Linked DNA regions of Homo sapiens: region 1 is linked to region 2. The links are contacts of gene promoters, found by promoter capture Hi-C in blood cells and fetal thymus (Javierre and others, 2016). All regions are on one chromosome and are shown on one strand. The core of a region is centred on a gene start or on the middle of the fragment in contact, and the rest is flanking DNA. Distances in the headings are between cores, read along the strand shown. Region 1 has its middle 72 kb from the start of RESF1. Region 2 holds the start of RESF1 (retroelement silencing factor 1).

Region 1 (6,440 bases), core at 3,787-6,286, 70 kb before region 2:
AAACTACAAAAAATTAGCCGGGCATGGTGGTGGGTGCTTGTAGTCCCAGCTACTTGGGAGGCTGAGGTAGGAGAGTCGCTTGAACCCGCTAGGCGGAGGTTGCAGTGAGCTGAGATCATGCTGCTGCACTCCAGCCTGGGTGACAGAGCAAGACTCCCTCTCAAAACAAAAACAAAAAAAAACCTTATTCTTGCTGGAAGAGTCTATAGGAAAAAAATTAATGTAAGTATAATAAATAAATGGTTATAGATGTATACTATATATATATATTTATACAATATATAATGATAAAACCACTAAGCAAAAGTGTTGCAGGAGTTAAGGATGAGCCACCCCAAAATTGGCTGATGTGATGTACTGATTATTTCAAGCTGAAAGTACTTGAGAGACTGTAATTGCAGAAAGGGCTCTCTGACCTGTCCTTTCCTACATGTAGCAAGTCATAAAAATTCCTTTGAGGAGGAGGCCTTTCCGGTACCAGGGCAAGAAAATAACCCTTATCTCCAGGGACTGGGAACTGCCACTGAGCTGGACCTGTACAGATAAACTTACTTAATAAATCCTTATCTTCCACTAGGTTTACATCCCCCCATAAATCTCCTAGTGACTCCCCTAGAATTTACTGTCCCCAACCTGGATCCCTTTGTCCAGTCCTTTCTTCACAGATTTACCATTCTTTATCTAAAAAGTAGAAAAGCTTTCCGCTTTGGCCATTTCCTCAGGTGTTCACTCTCTTGTAAGTGTCCCTTTGTACAGGTAAAAATTAATAAAACTTGTGTGCTTTTCTTCTGTTAATCTGCCTTTGTCAATTTAATTCCTAGGCCCAACTAAAGATGCCACTTAAGAACTGAGATGGTTAGAGGTGATCTTTAAATTCCCCTGCTGTGTCGACCACTTTCTCTGTACAGCGGGCAGGACTGCCCGGCCTGTTTCCTCCTGTATTTCATATACAGATGTACCAACTGATCAGGAGCATCCAATACTTCTCCTGCCATCGCCTGAGATCTGCATGAATTCATTGTCCCAAGCCACCAGCACTGGAGCACACTTCATGTAACAGCAAGCACTCTGCCTCTGCCTGCAGTCCTTGAAAAGGAAGCTATTAGTTAAATGAGGTCTGGCAAGGATTGGGAAGGGAAGAAAGATTGTCTTTTCCATTTGAAATGAACCTGAACCTGGCACAGTGCCGCATGCCTGTAGTCCCAGGTACTTGGGAGGCTAAGGCAGGAAGATCACTTCAGCCCAGGACTTCAAGGCTAGCCTTGGCAATATAGTGAAACCCTATCTCTAAAAAATAGAGTGAGAGTGAGAGAGAGAGAGCTCACAGCACAAGTGCCTCACACACCACCAAATGAGACCATGATAGAAGCTAGAAGTGCAAAGTGCAAGTCTACCAAACCCATCCCAGCTAATTTTGATAACACTATTAACAATACCCTGTTTATGGTTTTTGTTTTTTTTTTTTTTTTTGAGACAGAGTCTGTCTCTGTCACCGAGGCTGGAGTGCAGTGGCGCATCTCTGCTTACTGCAAGGTCCGTCCCCTGGGTTCATGCCATTCTCCTGCCTCAGCCTCCCGAGTAGCTGAGACTGCAGGCACCCGCCACCATGCCCGGCCAATTTTTTTGTATTTTTAGTAGAGAAGGGATTTCACCGTGTTAGCCAGGATGGTCTCAATCTCCTGACCTCGTGATCTGCCCGCCTCGGTTTATGTTTTTTTAAAATGGGACAAGGGAAAGGTTTGCCGGTCCAAGGAAAACTTCTACCAATCCTCCCATTTACCTTTGGTTGTATAGAATATAGCAAAAATGAGTTTTGAGAGTAAGGATTTTATTCAACTTCATTTCACAAACATTTACTGAGCATCTTCTAAGAGTCAGGAGCAATATGAAGGCCCCCTACCCTAAAGGAGTTGACATTTCCTCAGGTGATGCAGACACTGCCTGAAAGCTATGACTGCAATCGGGTCCTGCTACCAGCATGAGTAAAGTGTAATAGGATCTCAGAAGTAGGGCTCAATTAATTCTCCCTGGAAGAGTTAGGAAATGCTTCACAGATGAGGTGATACTTGAGCTGGCCTTTGGAGTAAAGCGAGTAGGATTTTTTCCGTCAGCTGGAGAAGCAGTAAAAGGGTTTTCTAGATACAGGACACATACAACATGAGCAACATGAGCAGCTTGCACATTCTAGGGACTGGCAAGCTGATTTGAAGGAAAGTGAGAAGTTTCATACGGCTGGCACAAAACAAGTATATGACAGGAGCAAGAAGATGCAAGTAAAAATGGTTTGATCTATGGACATAAACAAAGACCAACCGAAAGAGAACAATCAAAGGCTATTTATCCAGAGCCTGCTACAGCAAGAGCGTCAGTCACAGTCACTTGTGTTTTGGCAAAGACTCAAAGGCAGGCAGAGGAGTGGGAAATTTTTATAGTGGAAAAAGAGAAGGTTTCAAGTATGCCCTGATAGCTGCCAGCTTTGCCTGTCACGGGACTCATGACTATAACCCCAGCACTTTAGGAGGCTGAGGCAGGAGGATTTCTTGACCCCAGGAGTTTGAGACCAGCCTGGGCAACACAGTGAGATCTCATCTCTACAAAAAATTAAAAATAAAATTAGCCAGGCTTGGTGGCAAATGCCTGTAGTCCCAGCAACTTGGGAGGTTGAGGTGGGAGGACTGCATGAGCCTGGGAGGCTGAGGATACAGTGAGCCATGATCGTGCCACTGCAACTCCAGCCAGGGTAACAGAGTGAGACCCTGTCTCAAGTAACTGCCAGCTTCTCTCATTTCTGTCCCAGCTTCCAATTTAGGACCCACAGGAGAAAGCCAAATATGCACCCCTAACCAATCCCATAGGATGCGCCTCTTCTAGTTAGCTGCCTACAGCTTCTCCAGGTCGACAGCGTCCAATCAGGGTAGACCTGAAACTTTTTGCTTTTTCCACTATCAAGTTTTCGCAGTCCTCTGCTTGACTTTGACTTTTTACCAAATGCACATGATGGTGGCTCTCTCTCTTGCTATATAGCAAGCTCTGATTAGATAGCCTTTATTTGTTCTCCTGTAGGTGGTCTTTATTTCCATACAATCAAGTCTAAGCTGCTACCTGGACTATCTCAAGCCTCCTAAATGGTCTCACTCTTCAACTCTTCTCTGATAAATAAGTTGATGCCAGTTATCTAAATCTTTCAAAGTATATAAAACATAGAGTTGATGATGAAAATTTTGCACTGTGTTTGTGCCTGCCATCTTCAGTGCCTCCATCCCTACTTCTGACTCTGTAGTGTATGCCCGGCTGATTTCCATGACAAGGTTTGCTCTGGCAGCCTGAACTGTAACACTCCCCCAGCAGTTCATAACCAGCTCCCTCACTCATCCTGTGGGTAAGTCTGGGTCATGCTCTCTACACTGAGTCCCAGGGTTCTGCAGCAAGATGCAGCTACAGTTGCTCACAGTGGCAGCTGGATTGATAGCTCACCCTTTTCTTAACTGCTTTTCCCTTCCATCCTTATCTCACGTCGCCAGTCCTCCACCAGTGTTTCCTGAGATCACCTCCCAGTGAATTATTAATACTTGCTTTCAAATCCTTTCTCAGGGTGTGTGTCTGTGGGAACCCAAGAGAATACAGCCAGAATTAGAAATAACTCAAATCACCTTATTCAAATAACTAACAACTACAGGAGGAAGAGGAGACCAAATTGCCACTTCCCGCATAGGTTTTCACTAATATATATGCTTGGCAAGAATAAGGAAAAGAGAGTACCCAAGTTATTTTAAAAAGAAGTAAAAAAAAGAAAAGAAGAAAAATTGTTAATGCCATTTACAATTTCAAAAATGACTGCATGTGGTTCATTAACAAGCATTTTCTAATCATAAATAAGTTGCATCACTCCGTGCAGTTATTTAAGGCTGTTGAATTCATACAAAACTAGAGGTAAAAGATTACAATGCAGATGACTAAAGGCAGAATTAGCAGTAAAATAATTTGATGGAGGAGACAAATGGCTTTACATGGAATGGAAGAAAACCTGACAGAAAATCTATCACTTGTGGTAAATGGGGGAGTATTGTACCATTAGTAAAATAGTAATATTAAAAACAAAAAAGCAAATGTTTGTTTGTTTTTGAGACAGAGCTTTGCTCTGGTTGCCCAGGCTGGAGCACAATGGCACAATCTCGGCTCACTGCAACCTCCGCCTCCGGGGTTCAAGCGATTCTCCTGCCTCAGCCTCCCAAGTCGCTGGGATTACAGACGTGTGCCACCACGCCCATCTAATTTTTGCATTTTTTTTTTAGTAGAGACGGGGTTTCAGCATGCTGCCCACGCCGGTCTCGAACTCCTGACCTCATGTGATCCACTTGCCTTGGCCTCCTAAAGTGCTGGGATTATAGGCGTGAGCCACCCCACTCGGCCTATTTATTTCTTTTGAGACAGGGTCTGGCTCTGTCACCCAGGCTGGAGTGCAGTGGTGAGATTACGACTCACTGCAACTTCCACCTCCTAGGCACAAGGGATCCTCCCACCTCAGCCTCTTGAGCAGTTAGGACTACAAGCTCATGACACCACACCCGGATAATTATTTTATCTTTAGTAGAGATGAGGGCTCACGATGTTGCCCAGGCTGGTCTTGAACTCCTGGCCTCAAGAAATCTACCCACCTTGGCCTCCCAAAGTGCTGGGATTACAGGTGTGAACCACCACACCCAGCTTAAAATACCTTTAATTAACTTCAAAAATAGCAGCAATAAATACAATTATTAATTAATTTATTTTTATTTATTTATTTTTGAGACAGAGTTTCACTCTGTAGCCCAGGCTGCAGTGTGGTGGTGTTATCTTGGCTCACAGCAACCTCTCCCTCCTGGGTTCAAGCGATTCTCCTGCCTCAGCCTCCCAAGTAGCTGAAATTACAGGCATCTATCACCATGCCCAGCTAAATTTTTTATATATATATATATTTAGTAGAGATGGGGTGTCACCATGTTGGCCAGGCTGTTCTCAAATTCCTGACCTCAAGTGATCCACCCACCTCGACCTCCCAAAGTGCTAGGATTACAGGTGTGAGGCTGTGCACAGGGCCTCTTTCTTTCCTTCCTTTCTTCCCTTTCTTTTCTTCTTTCTTTCTCTTTCTTCCTTTCCTTTCTTCCTTTCTTTCCTTTCCTTCCTTCCTCCCTCTTTCTTTCCTTTCTTCCTTTCTTCTTTCTTTCTTTTGCTTTCTTTCTTTCCTTTTCCTTTCTTCCTTTCCTGTCTTCCTTTCTTTCCTTTCCTTTCCTTCCTTTCTCCCTCTTTCTTTCCTTTCTTCCTTTCTTCCTTTCTTCTCTTTCTTCCTTCCTTTCTTTCTCTCTTTCTTCTTTCTTTTTCTTTCTCTTTCCTTTTCCTTTCTTCCTTTCCCTTCCTTTCTTTCCTTTCCCTTCCCTTCCTTCCTTCCTCCCTCCCTTCCTCCCTGCCTCCCTCCCGCTCTCTCTTTCTTTCTTTTCTTCTTTCCCTCCCTCCCTCCTTCCTTCCTTCCCTCCTTCCCTCCTTCCCTCCTTCTTTTCTTTCCTACAGGGTCTCTCACTCTCTCACCCAGACTGGAGTGCAGTGGTGCTATCACAGCTCACCACGACCTCTGCCTCTCAGGCTCAAGCAATTCTCTTGCCTAAGCCTCCCAAGTAGCTGGGATTACAGGTGCTCGCCACCATGCCCAGCTAATTTTTGTATTTTTTTTAGTAGAGACAGGGTTTCACCGTGTTGTCCAGGCTGGTCTCAAACTCCTGACCTCAAATGATCCACCCACTTCGGCCTCCCAAAGTGCTGGGATTGCAGGCATGAGCCACAGAGCCTGGCCTACTTATTTTTAAGACCGGGTTTTACTCCCATCACCCAGGCTGGAGTGAAGTGGCGTGATGTGGGCTCACTGCAACCTCCGCCTCCTTGGCTCAAGAGATTCTCCCACCTCAGCCCCATGAGTAGCTGGGATTACAGGCCCACACCACTGCACCCAGCTAATTTACAAATAACACATTTTTATCTGTTTTTTTTTTTTTTTTTAGACGAAGTCTCACTCTGTCACCCAGGCTGGAGTGCAGTGGCACAATCTTGGCTTACTGCAACCTCCGGCCTCCCGGGTTCAAATGATTCTCCTGCCTCAGCCTCCTGAGTAGCTGGGATTACAGGTGTGCACCACCACGTCCTGCTAATTTTTTTGTATTTTTAGTAGAGACAGGTTTTTGTTTGTTTGTTGGTTATATGTAAAAAATGTTTACTTAGAAATAGAATGCTTGTTCCTTGGTGCTACGAAGAAATAGCACTCGAACATAAATTTAATTCTCTTAGCATGGCAATCTTTACTTTTTGCAGAAAGTCAAGTATTCACCACAGATGGAATAATGGCAAGAGCACACCTGAACAATGGAGGGAAGTAATTTTTATCCTTTACGCAGTTTGTCCCTGCTACTGTGTCC
Region 2 (6,615 bases), core at 940-3,439:
TTCTGCTAAGGCAGCATTACATGTCCCAGGCCACAAAATCTATTTCCTCTAACATGACAATAGCTAACATTTATTGGGCACTTGCCATGCATCAGGAGCTGTTTAACTGTGATATGCATGAAACTCATGTAACTCTACCATAACAATCCTATGACATTAGTGCTTGTCCCCATTTTATAGATGAGAGAACAGGCAGAGGTTTATTTTCCAGGGTTGGCTGAGTGCTACAGCCAAGATCTGAACCAAAGCAGTGTGGTTACAGGGACCATGGTCTTAATCATTAGGTGAGACTTCCTAACACACTTTGTGGTTACAGATGAAAGCCCTGGACATGATCACTTTGGCTGCACGGGAAGCATCCTCCCAGAGTGGTGCTCTGCGCCACATTCCCCTATGTGCCACCAACAGTAATAAAATATAATAAAAACAATCAAATAAACACAGCACAGACAGAAGCAGACCTCTGCCCAGGTAACTTCCACCACAATTCCCTTACCAAAGACCTCTTTCCTTATTTTGCTAAGATTAACAACTGATTTTTCAGTACTATGCCAACAACATTTCTTCTCAAGCTTTGCTGTCAATTCCATTGTGACCCACAGTTTAATTTAAAACCGATGTTGATTCACTGAGCTAGTAATTTTATTCGGTAATAGGTGAATTACTCCATAGTTGAGTGTGAATAACCGCCTGGTTAAATCAGGGCGGGTTTCTTAGAGGTGATACACTTACCGTTGAGCACAACTTTACTCTTTAATTATCGTGTACATTCCCATTTCCCTCCAAACACGTCAGTCCCTCTCCACACAGTGTTTACTTCTTTGGTCCTAGGGACAGCAAGAAACATTTTATAATAAAAGAGCACATGCTAATGTGTTTACTAGATATGACACTGCTGTGCAAAACTGTTTTCTTTTATGGCTGCACTGAAAGCATGCTAAGTTTACTGAATTCTTATTAAGTGTCCTAAGTAACAGAAATAGAAACTAGGTCTGGCCTGAAAATACCATTCACTTAAGTTAGAATTTATGTGCGCTCCTCTAGGTCCGCTATTGTAGTATCACTGCAAAACAATAATACTTTATCTCTGCACTTGTCTTTATTGGATTAATATTAAACAGAAAAAAATCCGACTGCACAGGGGAAAAAACCTAAAACCTTAACATGCATGCACATTAACAGTGACTGAAACATGATTAAAGCTAACACATTTAGCAGAAAAATGCAATCCCCAAACAAGCTCTGCGGCCCGCCTACTGAAATGCACCCGCCCGCCACTAAATGAAAATGCGCCTCAAGCTCATACACATCCTTATGTTAAGACAGTATGCACTCGATGTACTACAAATAAATTGTTTTCACGGAAATGATTCCCCGAAAGTTTGCTGCTGAACTCAGGACCCTAAGGACGTTTGCTTAGGGAATCCGTGTCCCTCGAGAACACCTAAGATGGGTATGCGTTTGTGCATTTAAAAATGCCTCAAGGAACTATTGCTGAGGAACAGAAACCATCGCCGGCGCAGAAGCGTTCGCGGACCACTTGGAGATAGATGCCAGTACAGCAATTCTGTTCCAGGAGGCTTCGGCTTAAGAGGGCCGGGGAGGAGGAGAACCCTCGGGAAATAGCAAAAAAAAAAAAAGATTTTTCTTTTTCACTCCAGCGACAGGAAAGCCTTAAAAACATAAGCAGCTCTCATACCCACCCGCCTCACCAGCCGCGCCTCGCAGTTCGACAAAATGCGTCCTAGCCTTCGCCACTCGCGACCTCTACCGCGCAGAGCCAGGCAATGAGGGAAAACAGCCAGCGAGGCCCGCCCTCCGGTGCAAGGCTCGGCATCCGCGGAGGCCCAGGGCCGGCCCCGGTGCGGCGGGCAGAAGCAAGCGCGGCGGCCCGGCCCAGCTCCGGTGGGCGGACGGCGGGACGCGCGAGCCGGCGGGGCCCGAGGCCCGGGTTCCGGGGCCGCCCGCGACTGCGTCTTTGCCGCAGAACAAAAGCGCTCTGCGCCGCGCGCAGGCCCGGACCGCGAGTGCCTCTGGCTCCCGGCTCCCGGCCCCCGCCCCGCCCGGACCCCGGAAGGCGGAGGGACCTCGGGGTGCTCGTCTCACACTTACCGACAAAGGGAAGAGGACCACCCCGGCAAGCGGGGAGAAAACCGGCGGCCTCCCGGGCCCCAGAGTTTAAGTCAAGTGGGGTCCGCCTCCAGGGGCGGGTCGAGGAGCCAGGCCCAGGATCCAGGAACAGCTACGCTCCGCCTCACGCCCGAGGCGGTGGCTGCGAGGGCCGCGCCGCCGCGGTCCTAGTGCCACCAGAGAAGCCGCGGACCCGGCCCGCAGATAACACCCGGGCTTGCAGAGCGCTTTCATCTGCCCGACGCGGAAATCTCCTGCAGCGATCTTCTACCTTCAGCGTGCATCCGCAGCACCCAGAGGGCACGTTAAAGAGAGATTGAGAACCACCAGCAAAACTGCTGATTCAGTAGGTTTGGGGTGGGGCTGAAAAATGTGCATTTCTAACAAGTTCCTGAGACCGACTGTTGCTGCTGGCCTCAGGACCAATTTTTTCTATAAAGCGCATGGAAGTCAGAGTGCACCCAAGAGATTGTTAACCCTTAAAAAACAGAAAAAAAAAAAAGAAATCAACAAGTTAGAGGCAAATAAGTGTGAAAGAAAGTGGATAGTCTATTTGGGGATTCTGAAAGTCCCTGAGGAAAGTTGACTTTGGAGACCAGATCACGAAGCACGACCTCTTAATTGCCGACCTTTTGTTATAGATTAACTCCCTTATTTTCTTGTTCCCAGCTCAGACCAGATGGCATCTGAGATAAAATACGCATTGAATAAGATAAATGACCGCTTGACTATTACATCCTTAATGTGGAATGTTAAATAGACCCTTCCCAAAAAGAAACACTGCCTTGAACCAATCAAATTGCTATGCGTTAACCTTCTATGGAAAATGTTGACATCCTGTTAAGCTTCCCAGACCCTGCCTGTGTAAACGACCCTCAAACTTCTCCCTTTCGAAGCACTGACCCCCATCTTTTGGAGTCTGTGTCCTACCGGGTCGCCATCCTCAAACTTTGCACTCAAATAAACCAATATTTAATCATATTGCCCGAATCTCATTATTAAGGTTTACGTAAGCGTTTACTTAGTAATGAAGGTTGCAACCAGGATGGCAAATCAGAGATTGTGCCACTGGAGAGGGGCAAGGGAGCTTATGTTTATAGGAATTTATTTGTTACATAAATTGTCAGATTAGTTCATTGGTGAATTAAACGAAGAAGTCTTTAGTCATTACTAGAAGAGTGCGTTTGCGTCTGTCAGAAACAAAACAAAAAAACTACATACAGAATATTCTTTCTTTTTTGGGGGGGGGACGGAGTCACGCTCTGTCGCCCAGGCTGGAGTGCAGTGGCACGATCTCGGCTCACTGCAAGCTCCGCCTCCCAGGTTCACGCCATTCTGCTGCCTCAGCCTCCCAAGTAGCTGGGACTACAGGCGCCCGCCACCATGCCCGGCTAATTTTTTGTATTTTAGTAGAGACGGGGTTTCACCATGTTAGCCAGGATGGTCTCGATCTCCTGACCTCTTGATCCGCCCGCCTTAGCCTCCCAAAGTGCTGGGATTACAGGCATGAGCCACCGCGCCCGGCCAGAATATTCTTAAAGATTGGGGGTGGCCAGGTGTGGTGGCTCAGGCCTGTAACCCCAGCACTTTGTGTCACGCGCATCCGTGTGAAGAGACCACCAAACAAGCTTTGCGTGAGCAACAAGACTGTTTATTTCACCTGGGTGCAGGCGGGCTGAGTCCGAAAAGAGAGTCAGCAAAGGGTGGTGGGATTATCTTTAATTCTTATAGGTTTTGGGAGAGGCTCCGCGGAACAATGTTTTGCGGGCAGGGGGTGGATCTCACAAAGTACATTCTCAAGGGTGGGGAGAATTACAAAGAACCTTCTTAAGGGTGGGGGAGATTACAAAGAACCTTCTTAAGGGTGGGGAGAATTACAAAGAACCTTCTTAAGGGTGGGGGAGATTACAAAATACATTGATCTGTTAGGATGGGGCAGAAACAAATCACAATGGTGGAATGTCATCAGTTAAGGCTATTTTCGCTTCTTTTGTGGATCTTCAGTTGCTTCAGGCCATCTGGATGTATACGTGCAGGTCACAGGGGATATGATGGCTTAGCTTGGGCTCAGAGGCCTGACAGTTTGGGAGGCTGAGGTGGGTGAATCACTTGAAATCAGGAGTTTGAGACCAACGTGACCAACATGGTGAAACCCTGTTTCTACTAAAAATATAAAAATTAGCCAGGCGTGGTTGTGGGCACCTGTAATTCTCAGCTACTCGGGAGGCTGAGGCGGGAGAATTGCTTAAACCCAGGAAGCAGAGGTTGCAGTGAGCCGAGATCACGCCACTGCACTCCAGCGTGGGCCACAGAAAGAGTCTGTCTCATGAAACAAAACAAACAAAAAAAGATTGGGGATCAGGCGTGGTGGCTTATGCTTGTAATCCCAGCACTTTGGGGAGGATCACTTGAGGCCAGGAGTTTGAGAGAGCAGCCTTGCCAACATGGTGAACCCAATCTCTACAAAAAATATACAAAAAACAAAAAAAATTAGCCAGGAGTGGTGGCATGCGCCTGTAGTCCCAGCTACTTGGGAGGCTGAGATGGGGGGATCACTTGAGCTTGGGAGGCAGAGGTTGCAGTGAGCCAAGATTGAGCCACTGAACTCCGGCCTGGGTGACAGAGTAAGAGCCTGTCTCGGAAAATAATAATAATAATAATAATAATATTGAGACCAGCTTTCTTGGGTTGTGTGTTGTTGCAAAAACGGTTGTGTTAGATATGAATTCTAAATTTCTCTTCAAAGAATCAATATGTCAGTATGGTCAATCTTTGCCTTTTACTTTTAAACTTAACTTCCTCGTAAAGCAACCTTTTTCCATCACCTGCTCCACCCTGACTCATTTCAATCACCTGCTCCACCCTGACTCATTCCGATTTCCTGCCCCGCCTTAACCATTTTTCCTGCCAAACCGCTCACCCCATCACTCTCTTTAAATTAGCCAATCAGAATTAGTTTAGCCTGTGCGGTCTAACCCTAGCCAACAGGGGAACGACACAGCAGCAGAGGCCACGTGCATCAGGAATAAGAACCCCTTCCCCTCCCTTGCCCAGGTGTGAGCTCACCATTGCTCCATCTGTGAGGGCGCACCCGTCTATAGAAGTACATTGCCGCCGGGCGCAGTGGCTCACGCCTGTAATCCCAGTACTTTGGGAGGCCGAGGCAGGCGGATCATGAGGTCAGGAGATCAAGACCATCATGGCTAACACTAAAAAATACAAAAAATTAGCTGGGCGTGGTGGCAGGTGCCTGTAGTCCCAGCTACTCCGGAGGCTGAGGCAGGAGAATGGCATGAACCCGGGAGGCGGAGCTTGCAGTGAGCCGAGATTGCGACACGCACTCCAGCCTGGGCGACAGAGCAAGACTCTGTCTCAAAAAAAAAAAAAAAAGAAGTACATTGCCTTGCTGAGAATTAAAAAGAAAATTTATATTCGAGTGCTATTTCTTTTGCAACACCAAAACTTTATTTATAACAGTTGTTTGTGAAGGAAATATTTTTCACAGTTTCTTCGTGGGCCTCAAAGTTTAGCAGCAGCTCAGCATGGAGTCAATAGCCCAAGATGGAGTCACTGATATCAAGCCTGGAAAATTGCTAAGCTGCATTAAGGAGACTTTTTTTTTTTTTCATGCTATTGTAGTAAGGACAACATCCATTAATGCAGAGGAATCTTTTCAAAGAAAATGAAATAGACTTAGGGTTTTTATAGGAGGAAGTAAACAAGGAAATCTTGTCTGAATGATTAAGGGATGAGAAAGGGCAGAGGTGGTTAGTTAGTGCTTGTGACATAAGAGGGCAGACTATTCCTTTGCGCTTGAGGTTTGTTGGTTTTGGTTTTTAATTTTTGTAGTCTTCAGTATCTCCTATATCCACCACCATCACCACCTCCTCCATATGGATCTACATAATCTTTTCCACCATAATCTCCCCTCCCACCATCATCTCCTCTGCCTTAGAAACCTCCTTTACCACCTCCATCCCACCTCCTCCCTCTCCCCCACCACTTTCCCATCCTCCTCTACCCCAGCCAACTCTTCCACCTCCACCCCCACAGCCTCTTCTACTACCACCTCTACCTCCACAACCACCACCCCAACCACCCCTTCCGCCACTGCCTTCTTGTCTCTTTTGCCAAGGGGGCATTTCAGAGGGTGGTGGTTCAATTTCATTTGGCCAGCCTCCCCTGTCAGGCACCCTTCCCATCAGCACCTTATTAATGGCACATGCCATCATCTGGCTGGCTCCACTGCTTGTCCTAATGATCTTGGATAGATTATCATGAGCAGCAAGTAGATGCACCATTATAATCGCTGTCTTGGGTGACAAAGCATAACACTGAGGCTGGTAAATTCTTGCTGTGTCATCTTTTCTTACCTTGGCTGTATCACACCGTGCAACGGACTGTATTGCCGCATCTAATTGTTTCATAACATTCGCTAGAGGCACTCATGTTCACAGGAAAGAGCATCATTGACTCTTTCCAGTT

The links. The method cuts DNA at HindIII sites, captures the fragments that hold promoters and counts their contacts. A CHiCAGO score of 5 or more calls a contact.
Region 1: a contact is called between a fragment that was not itself captured here and the fragment with the promoter of RESF1 in region 2, in 3 of 17 cell types (naive CD4 T cells, non-activated CD4 T cells and naive CD8 T cells). The highest score is 7.0, in naive CD4 T cells.

Annotation. Positions count from the first base shown.
Region 1 is chr12:32,028,320-32,034,759 of GRCh38, reverse strand. No RefSeq gene overlaps it. Among named protein-coding and RNA genes, the nearest start is that of RESF1, 72 kb to the right of the region's middle. The HindIII fragment of the contact is 8,674 bases long and covers 700-6,440 here.
Region 2 is chr12:31,954,989-31,961,603 of GRCh38, reverse strand. It overlaps RESF1 (retroelement silencing factor 1), which reads right to left and starts at 2,189. Exons shown (of 6, transcript NM_018169.4): 1 at 2,113-2,189; 2 at 733-827. It overlaps LOC105369725 (a long non-coding RNA gene), which reads left to right and starts at 2,300. Exons shown (of 2, transcript XR_931503.2): 1 at 2,300-2,476; 2 at 2,800-3,111. It also overlaps the pseudogene LOC100132543. RefSeq lists a silencer at 1,879-2,218 and enhancers at 3,271-4,064, 4,068-4,567. The HindIII fragment of the contact is 2,403 bases long and covers 575-2,977 here.